Regions from separate parts of the Homo sapiens genome. Here region 2 is linked to region 1. The links are contacts of gene promoters, found by promoter capture Hi-C in human tissues and cell types (Jung and others, 2019). All regions are on one chromosome and are shown on one strand. Each heading gives the region's core, a stretch centred on a gene start or on the middle of the fragment in contact. The rest is flanking DNA. Distances are from core to core; before and after follow the strand shown.

Region 1 (5,206 bases), core at 2,365-4,864:
AATATGGCTCTTGCAAATAGAATACTTAAAAACATAGTTAAATCCACATTTTCCGGAATTTTTAATCAGAAAGGAGATAACAAAGGGAACATAGACAAATTAAACAATAAAGAAAAACTGTACATATTTGGTTGTATTTTTCAGGTAAAAATTAAACTAAGATAATACTGCCTTGCAGATGGTGGGGCTTTGTTCAACTCCCTGGTGATTCCTTTTCCTTTTTTTTTTTTTTTTTTGGAGTCTCACTCTGTCGCCCAAGCTGGAGTGCAGTGGCGTGATCTCAGCTCACTACAACCTCCACCTCCTGAGTTCAAGTGATTCTCCTGCCTCAGCCTACCAGGTCCCAGCTAATTTTTGTATTTTCAGTAGAGACAGGGTTTCACCATGTTGGCCAGACTGGCCTGGAACTCCTGGCCTCAAGTGATCCACCTGCCTTGGACTCCCAAAGTGCTGGGATTACAGGCATGAGCCACCGCACCAGCCAAGCTTTTAAAGAATTAAAGTTAGTTTTATTCAGAGGTCTTACCGAGGATTGCAACCCAGAGAGTCTTCCAGAGAGTTTCTGTTAAACTGCTCCAAAGCAGTGTTTCCGCACACAGTTTGTGTACATCAGTGGTGGCTCTGCCTGTGCTCAGAAGTTACATTAAATGTGCTCAGAAGTTACATTAGAGCGAAATCACATCATGGTTTGGGTGCCAGGGTCCATCTGGTTATAGATTATGGAGACATAATCATTATTGCTGTCAGACATGGGTGTGCATTATACCCATGCACATGAAGAGGCAGAGGCTAGGATCATTGAACTTATGTTTTCTAAAACTGCAGTGATTCAGGCAAGAGAATGGGGACCTGTGCTCTATCCTGTTTATCTTTAGGGTATTCTTCCAGAGGGTTGCCCTCACTCACTGAGTCAGGGGCTTTGCGAAATTCTCTGGCAAACAGAATGAGCAAACATTCCTTCTTAGGTTTGCTACTTTGTCTCACAAGATTCATCCTGACCTAGGTGAGGACAGGCATTTCCTACTCAAATGTTGCATTTCCCAAGACTACTCGGGCCTACCACACCTCCATCCTGTGTGTGTGTGTGTGTGTGTGTGTGTGTGTTTATTTTGAATGAATGAAAGTTTAAAGTTTTAAATAACTGAGGACAGGCATTTCCGCATTTCCTACTCAAATGTTGCATTTCCCAAGACTACTCGGGCCTACCACACCTCCATCGTGTGTGTGTGTGTGTGTGTGTGTGTGTGTGTGTGTGTGTGTTTATTTTGAATGAATGAAAGTTTAAAGTTTTAAATAACTGTCCATATCCTCTCTCAAGAATTTCCCTGGGTGTTCTTTTACTTCACAAGGATCACAGAATGAAAAAAAAAATAACAATAGTAAAAAAGAGACAAGTCTTTTAAATATTTGATAAAATGGTATTGTATTGTTGAGTTTGTATTCCTCGAACTTTGCAATAATAAGGCGAGGGGAGGAGCCCAGGGATTATTCCTTCAGAATCAACTGGTATTTCCTGATGATCTGCTGTGGGCTGGGCACTGAGGTGGGTGCGGAAATGCAGGGTGAACATGACACAGGTTCCCTGCCTTCAGTTTCACTTTCCACATTGTTAAGGCTATTCCATGCAAGAATGAATCCTTTCAAATTTAGTCTAGCCAGATGTTTTGTGTCCTCTATCCCCTCAACCTTGTTTTTTTCCTTTGCTTGGCATTTATTTTATATTGAAGTATAATTGTGGTATCAATAAACTGCACATTTTTGAACTGCACACTTTGAAAAATGTTATATATGTATACAATCATGACACAATCACAGTCAAAATAATGAACACATCCATAACCCCCAAAAACTTCCTCAAGCCCCTCTGTATCCATCTTTCCCCCCGCCTTACCCAATCCCTGCCCCCAGGCAACAGCAATCTATAATGCTGTCATTATAGTTTCTACTTTCTAGAGTTTTATATAAATGGAATCATACAGTATGATGATTAACTGAACAAAATTATTTTGAATTATTTTGGGATTGTCAACTAAAGAAAAAAAATCAAGCTTTTATTTTAAGAGATGGAGTCTCACTCACTTTGTCACCCAGGCTGAAGAGACTGAAAAAAAAAAAAGATTCATCTGTGTTTTTGCATGTATCAATAATTCATCCTTTTTTGTTGCACAGCAGTATTCCATTAAGCAGATGTATAACAATTTTTTGATCCACTTCATTCATCTATTGATGAACATTTGGGTTGTTTCCTTTTTTTTGGCTATTGAAAATAAAGTGTTAACTTTTTGGAAACTGTCTCCTGAAAAAGCTAAACATAAATTTACTAAATAAGCCACTGATTCCTCTCATAGGTACATACCTAAGAGAAATATACGTACACACAAAATCTTGTGCACTAACGTTCATGGAAACATTATTCATAATAGCCAAAAAATGGAGACAACCCAAGTGTCCACCAACTGATGAACAAATCAACACAATGTGGTATATCCATAACAATGCAATATTATAAGCAATAAATAGGAATATAGGAGGGATACATGGACGAACCTTGAAAACATTATGCTAAATGAAGTAAGTCTGACTTAGGCCACCGTGTATTTTGTGATTCCACTTACATGAAATGTCCAGAAAAGGCAAATTCATAGAGACAAAATGTAGTGTTTGCCAGGGGCTGGAGAGAGGTGGGGCCGGGGGTCTGGGGAGTGATTGCTGATGGGTAGTTTCTTTTGTAGGTGATGAAAATGTTCTAAAATTAAATAGTAGTGATGGTTGTGCAACTCTGAAAATACTAAAAACTACTGAATTGTGTATTTATTTTATGAGACGGAGTCTCGCTCTGTCGCCCAGGCTGGAATGCAGTGGCATGATCTGGGCTTACTGCAACCTCCTTCTCCCAGGTTGAAGTGATTCTCCTGCCTCAGCCTCCCGAGTAGCTGGGATTACAGGCGCGCACCACTATGCCCCGGTAATTTTTGTATTTTTAGTAGAGACGGGGTTTTGCCATGTTGCCCAGGCTGGTCTCCAGTTCCTGACCCCAAGTGATCCGCCCACCTCGGCCTCCCACAGTGCTGGGATTACAGGCGTGAGATCCACTGCGCCCAGCCAAAGCTGCTATTTTTTAAAAGCGGCAATGAACATTCTTGTACAAGTCTTTGTACGGACATACAGTTTGGGTAGAAGAATAGCTGGGTCATATGCTGGGTGGATACTGAACTTTTTCAGAAACTGCCGCTCCTCTGCAAAGTGACTGCACCATTTTATGTTCCCAACAGCAGTACAGGAGAGTTTCAGGTCTACACAAACCCATCCATACTTGGTAAGACCCAACAAGCTTAACATTTCAAGGGAAGGTGGACTTAGGGAGGCGCCAGCGGGAGGCAACATCAATGCAGTTAGCTACACGGGCCTGAAAACTGGAGGCCGCGACAAGCGTCGCTGAGTGGAGGCCCAGTAAGTCCCACCCACTAGGCCAGCCCGAGCGCGTCTGCCACGCCCTGCTGCATTCCGCGGCGAGAGCGCGCGATAGGATTGGCTCTCAAGGCCCCGCCCCAACAGGTCGCCGCTCAGGGTGACCCGGAAGCAGTTGCGCCAGCAGCGTCGCGCGGCCCAGTTCCCTTTTCCGGTCGGCGTGGTCTTGCGAGTGGAGTGTCCGCTGTGCCCGGGCCTGCACCATGAGCGTCCCGGCCTTCATCGACATCAGTGAAGAAGATCAGGTGTGCTTCGGTCTACGGGTGCCGCCACGGTGGGGTGGGGGATGTCCTAGTAGCGCAAGGGACCGCTGCCGAGCCTGGGCCGGGCGGCCGGGGCTGACACCCGCAGCTGTTCTACACGCGAGAATGGGGAGGCCGGTGGCTGGGGCGCGCGTTCCTGGCCTCGATTCGCACCAGCTCGCCGGCCGGCGGTCCCAGCGCGGGGCCCGACGCTTCACCGCCAGCTCCCTGGTCGGCGTCGGGACTCATTTCTGACGACATAGTACTTTTAGACTGATGAGGAATGATGTCTGCTTCCGTCCGTCAAATGCAGCCACATTCGGAGTGGGAGGTGGTGAATCTGTAGTTAGCATAAGCAGGGTAGGGAAAAGTAATTTTGTGCTAAAGATCAAAATGCCGGGCCGGGCGCGGTGGCTCACGCCTTTAATCCCAGCACTTTGGGACGCCGAGGCGGGCAGATCACGAGGTCAGGAGATCGAGACCATCCTGGCTAACACGGTGAAACCCTGTCTCTATTAAAAATACAAAAAAATTACCCGGGCGCGGTGGCACGCGCCTGTAGTCCCAGCTACTGCCGAGGCTGAGGCAAGAGAATCGCTTGAACCCGCGAGGCGGAGTTTGCAGTGAGCCAAGATCGCGCCACTGCACTCCAGCCTGGGCGACAGAGCGAGAGTCCCTCTCAAAAAAAAAAAAAAAAAAAAAGATCAAAACGCCCGTATTACTGTGCGATCACAGGCGAAGACGACCCGTATTTTACACTTGCTTTCTATTCCTACTTGTATGAGGGTGAGAGTTGTTCTGTACCCCGGAAGTATGGTATCAGTTCAGCTCTTAAATTCTGTGAGGCATACACCTGATGGACCATCCTGATATTTTTAAATTTCCCGTTTGGCGTTTGCTCTTTGGTATACAGGGCTGATGGTTCTCATTTTCCCCATAACAAAAGTTTAACCTTATTTGGTAGGAGTTGAACACGACATCGTATTCTTTAAGTTAATTTTGTATTGCTGAAAATTCTTCTGTGAAGTCCTAACTTTGTCGTTTTATTTCTGTTACTCCACTAACACGGAAGTAACTTCCAAATGATTGGATATCATAAACTTCGCATGGAAGTTTACTTGTCTAAGACAACTTACAGAATTGCGGGAGTGAGTTCCCCCTCTCTCCTCCCCCCGCCCCATGGTAGGAATGCAGTTCCGATGCTCTGAAGAGCAAAGTAAGAAGGGAAAATGCAAAAGGCGGAGAAAAGGTCAAGGATGGGGAGGTTAAGCACAGATAGGAAGATATGAAAGACAAAAAGATACCTGATTAGAAATGGAAGCATGTTACCAACAGTTGGCTGTTAGGTTAACTGAGAAAGTGTTTGGAATTTTTTTTTTTTTAACATACAAAGTGAATGGAGGAAGTTCTTGTCATTGATCGTATCTTAAAGTGTCTTTTCTCAGGCTCTGCTTCTGTTCTTGTAACATCAGTATCGCTGTAGACAGTCCTTTCAG
Region 2 (4,914 bases), core at 1,338-3,837, 1.0 Mb after region 1:
AAAGAAAATGTAGTATATATACACCATGGAATACACTACTCAGCCATAAGAAGAAATGAAATAATGTCTTTTGCAGCAACTTGGATGGAGCTAGAGGCCATTATTCTAAGTGAAGTAACTCAGGAATGGAAAACCAAATACTATATATTCTCACTCATAAGTGGGAGCTAAGCTATGAGGACACAAAGACACACAGAGTGATATAATGGACTTTGGGGACAGAGGAGAGGGTGAGGGGGGAGTGAGGGATAAAAGACTACATATTGGGTACAGGATACACTACTTACGTGACGGGTACACTAAAATCTCAGAATTTACCACTATAGAATTCGTCTGTGTAACCAAAAATCGCTTGAACCCCAAAAGCTATTGAAGTTTAAAAAAGAGAAAAATGAAAATAAAAAATAAAGTCTTGACTGGGGCTTGCAGGATGGTCACTCATGGCTCTTGACAGGGGGCTTCAGATCCTTGCCACATGGACCTTTCCATAGGACTGCTTCAAGGTCCTCAGAATGTGGCAGCTGGCTTTCTTTAGAGTAAGTGATCCGAGAGAGAGCAAGGTGGAAGTCATGAGTTTTTGTTTTGTTTTGTTTTGTTTTGTTTTGTTTTGTTTTGTTTTTTTACAACTAAGCCTTGGAAGTAACACGTTGTCATTTCTGTAGTTTCCTGTTGGTTACACAGGTCAGTCCCATTCATCCTGGGTATGAATATCAGGGGGTGAGAATTCTTAGGAGCCACCTTATTGGCTGGCTTTCATAGATGGCTTGTATAGCAAGTGTCCAGGAGGCAGATAATGGTGGCCAGGCCAGAGCTGCCCAGCAAAACTACATCTAAAAATATGGATGCATCTGGTAACACATTCAAATAGAGATTTTCCTCTGTCATTGGCTGCTTGGTGGCCTGCTATTTGCAAATCAGCCCACAGAACTTAAAAAAAAATCCAATTATAACCCATTGTTAGACTCTGAAGTGTTTTAGCCACTTTGTAAAAATAACAATTTACTTGGCTTAATTTGACAAATCTTCTGTGATTATGATAAGTGACAGAATGATACAAACTATGTGTTTCTCAATAATTTAAATAACATCCCAATCTCTCAAGCAGACAGGAGGAAAGATGAATACACTGCTATTACATTCATATTTTATATAACACCTCTTTTCCTCCTAAATTGTCTGCTGGTTTAGTTGTTTGAATAGGCTTAATGTATCTCTTGCCTAGCCATGCTCAATAAGCTGTCTTTCTTATAGTTACTTAATGGGAATATGCTTTAAGAACAAGTAAATCAGCAAGATACCAGGGGCCCTGGAACTTCTGTCAGCTTAGTTATGGAAGCTCAAGGCAGACTGGTGTCTTTTAGCAATTGCAGCAGAATTATCTGTCAGAAGGGAGGATTAATTTAACAGAGCGTAGGTAGAAATCCTTCTACTTAATTAGGGGAGTTGTCTGTAGCTTCAAATTAGTTTCTCTGGCGGAATTTTCGTAGCTTTCTTTTATTTTAGACAAATAAACCAAAACCCAAATCACTGGGGAAACAACCTTCAGAAGAGGAAAAAAAAAAAGAATGTCAGCCACTATAACTGTGGCTTGTTGACCAAGAAAGACTTGCTACTTTAACATCTTGTAAAGATTGGTAGCATTGGTGGCTGAACCTGAACTGAATGCTGTTAGTCTGAGGATTGTCGGATTTTAAGGACAGTTACAAGGTTTAGCCAAACTCACTTTTCTCACCTCCAACTCAAACATAGAGAAAGAAGTTACTTTTTAATTTTTTTCAACTGTCTTATGTCATAGTTTTGAAAGAATGGTTCTTACTGTTTAAATTCAAACCTCTACAGTTCTTTCCCACCCATGATAAGGCAATGGAGGGATAAATCATACAGATCTTAAATTTAAAGGAAAACCGCTAGCAGTAGCGAGTCCTTGGCACAGAAGCAGATGCTGTCGTTTCTGAGGTTGTTTTGAGTAAAGTAATGTCCTTAGGCTGTGAGTCTAACATAAATTCTCCTGGGATCACACAGCTCCCCAACATCATAAAATCGATGTGTTTATGTTGTGCTTCAGTGCCAGCGAGTGACGAAGAGGAGGGAGCGGTTCTATTTGACAACTCCAGCAAGGTGGCCGCTGAACCCTTTGACACATCTTCTGGGTCTGTGCAGCTCATTGCCATAAAACCCACAGCCCTCCCCATGGTGCCCCCCACCTCGGACAGGAGCCAGGAGTCATCGGCAGTCCTCAACGGCGAGGTAAGTGCCTGGAGACCCAGGGCAGGAGATGGTCCGGCCAGACTTGGGAAATTCGGACGAAGGAACAACACCTGTGAATACTGGGTGCAGATTGCACCTAGGGCCGTATAGGTCATTTTTACCTCTGCATGTACCAGGCCTCTGCAGAATGAATCAGGACACAAGTCACCCAAAAAGAATTTGTTGGGTGATGTTTTCAGAGCACTTCCTATGTTCATTAAAAGCCCAGAAGGAACTGTTAAAAAAATGTGATTATGAAGAGAAGCATCAGGCGTCCTGCTCCCCGACCCCCTCACACACACAGCCTTTTGCCTTTCTTGGTGACACTCCTAAACTGTCCATTGTGGGATGTTGCTTGTAGTGGGGATGGAAGGGGCTTGAATTGAGAGGGAACCAGGGAAGATAACGTCATATGGACAGGGATGTGGGCCACTCTGGGGACTTTGAAATGACATTTATTCCTTTGAGCAAACTTGAAACAACTCATTGGCTGCTTCCAGAAAGCTATCAATGGATATCATGATGTTAGTCAACTTTCCTAAGAGTCTGAAAAAAAAAATTGTAACATTCACCATAGAGTGATGATTTCATCAAAGAAAATTAGATAGATAGATGCCAGAAGTTAGGTAAAAATTATCTGCATTTCCTTCATCTTCAGCAGCAGAATGGCCAGTGGATTGCAAATGTTTATGAACTTTAAGAAGATGCATTTGGACCCTACATGTGAACATTTACATTACATGTGTGCCCAAGCATGTACACACACAAGCTCTTAATTTTTCTCTGTTCTTAAGCTGTCAGGTTGGTTGTTAATTTCATTTGTTTATACCCAGCTATTTTTACCTGCAAGAGGTGGGAGATTTCCAAAGTTTTAGTCTTTTTCCCATCACACCTCAAGGAACATGCTATGGCCCTACAAAACCAGGTATTGTAAATACGCAGCATCTGGGCCACTTATAAAAGCATTTTACAAACCCAACTCAGGAAGCAACTCTTGTTTTCTGGGCAGAAAGACTGAGATGGCCTAAAGATGTGATGGGTAAACCTTCATTGATTTAAAAAAAATAACTGGTTGTGGACGTACAGAGCACTTCTCTTTCAGCCTCTTCATTTTTTAAACCAAGAAGCTGAAGCTTGAGGGGTCCAGTGGCTTGTTCAAAGTCACACGGCAGGTTATGGTGACAGCCATGAGGTTGAGGTCCCCTGACTTCCTGTCCAGCGCTCCTTTCCTCTCTTTTACTTACTACAGCCTACCAGAGAATAATAGCATTGTGCTTAAAAGAGTATGGATTCTCAAGCCATGCCTCAGGGGTTTGAGCCTCAGATCTTTTACTTACTGTGTGACCTTAAGCATGTTAGTTCATTTCTCTGTGCCTCAGTATCTCCGTTTATAAAATAGGGCTGCTGTGAAGATCAAATTGTTTAATATATGTAAATTACTTAGACTAGTGCCTGGCACACAATAAGCACTTTGATGATGATGATAATGATGATGATGATTATTATTATTACTGTTGTTGTTATCACCACCCATTAGACAGCCAGTGAAGAAAGATCATGTATTTTATGCCCCTTGGCTCTACAATTTGAGAATCTGAATGTCTTCTCAAAACCAGTCACAGTCACTGAATTTTCTCTTGGGCACAATTCTGCCAGCAGACATGCAAACCCCATAATTAGAGGCCTCTGAGGTTGACACTAATGCATTGATAACTGCTGTTGATTTGGACCCTCTGCTCAGTTATGGATACATGTGATGGCCACTAGGCCTGGATCTTTTCATCCCAGCTTAATGATGTGCATGTCATAGAGACAGATTCCAAATCTGGGATAGATTCAATTTATCACCCCCTTTTCCTCCCAGGCCCATCACCTTGTCAAAGAAGGAGAGCAAATCAGCATCTTCCTTGTCCAGAAATGGATGCTGTATTTTGGTAGTTAAAGGAATGGACCTTGCTGGCATTTGGATTGGAAGAGAGCCCTGAACTGTTCTCTATAATTTGCTGCCTTGTGGAGCCTGACACAGATTGTCTTGTAATTTTCTTCCTCCTTCTATTGTGGGTGGCTGGTTTAAATGAAGAAAGCACAACCCAGAAGCCATACGTTTTTCTTTTGTAAATTACACGACATTCTTTTAAAGATTATTTTTAAGAAAGCATAATAAAAACAGAAAGTTCGGAAACGTTGGTGTGACATTCTCATCACTTGTTACTTATTTAGCACAGTCACCTGCTTATATCTCCAACAGTTTGCAAGGTACATTAGCCACGTTCCCTTCTGAAAGACCAGACTGCCTTTGCCCTATAGGGCAGGACCTGGTTCATGTTAGTGGCCATACAAGGCTTCAAAATTACATATCTCTCAAGAAAGGCATGGATTTACAAAAACATGCTGTCAGATGCAGGTTGACAGTGTGGAAAGGCATTGGGAGCAGCTGCTTCCCCTTCCACCCTGTCCGTCCCAGCTCAGCCTCTTCAGGAACTTGCTCTCTTATCTAGCTGGACACCAGCTGAAGGGCAGCGAAGGCCACTGGGTTCCCCAGGACTGGAGCTAGACTCAGGGCACTGAGAACTGGCGGAGGCACCCACACAGAGGAACCAAAAGGGTATAGGCATAATTAAGGCCGAGCCACATTGCTAAGAGCACGGAGTCAGGCCTAGGCCTGAA

The links. The method cuts DNA at HindIII sites, captures the fragments that hold promoters and counts their contacts. A contact is called where the count stands out against the background at its distance.
Region 2: a fragment that was not itself captured here is called in contact with the fragment with the promoter of EIF3M in region 1 in 1 of the 25 tissues and cell types used here (mesenchymal stem cells).

The regions. Positions count from the first base shown.
Region 1 is chr11:32,580,217-32,585,422 of GRCh38, forward strand. It overlaps EIF3M (eukaryotic translation initiation factor 3 subunit M), which reads left to right and starts at 3,615. Exons shown (of 11, transcript NM_006360.6): 1 at 3,615-3,713. The coding sequence starts at 3,672. RefSeq lists enhancers at 3,326-3,978, 3,621-3,770 and a silencer at 3,401-3,460. The HindIII fragment of the contact is 6,597 bases long and covers 2,690-5,206 here.
Region 2 is chr11:33,604,576-33,609,489 of GRCh38, forward strand. KIAA1549L (KIAA1549 like) reads left to right here. Exons shown (of 21, transcript NM_012194.3): 14 at 2,066-2,247. Among named protein-coding and RNA genes, the nearest start is that of C11orf91, 94 kb to the right of the region's middle. The HindIII fragment of the contact is 4,708 bases long and covers 234-4,914 here.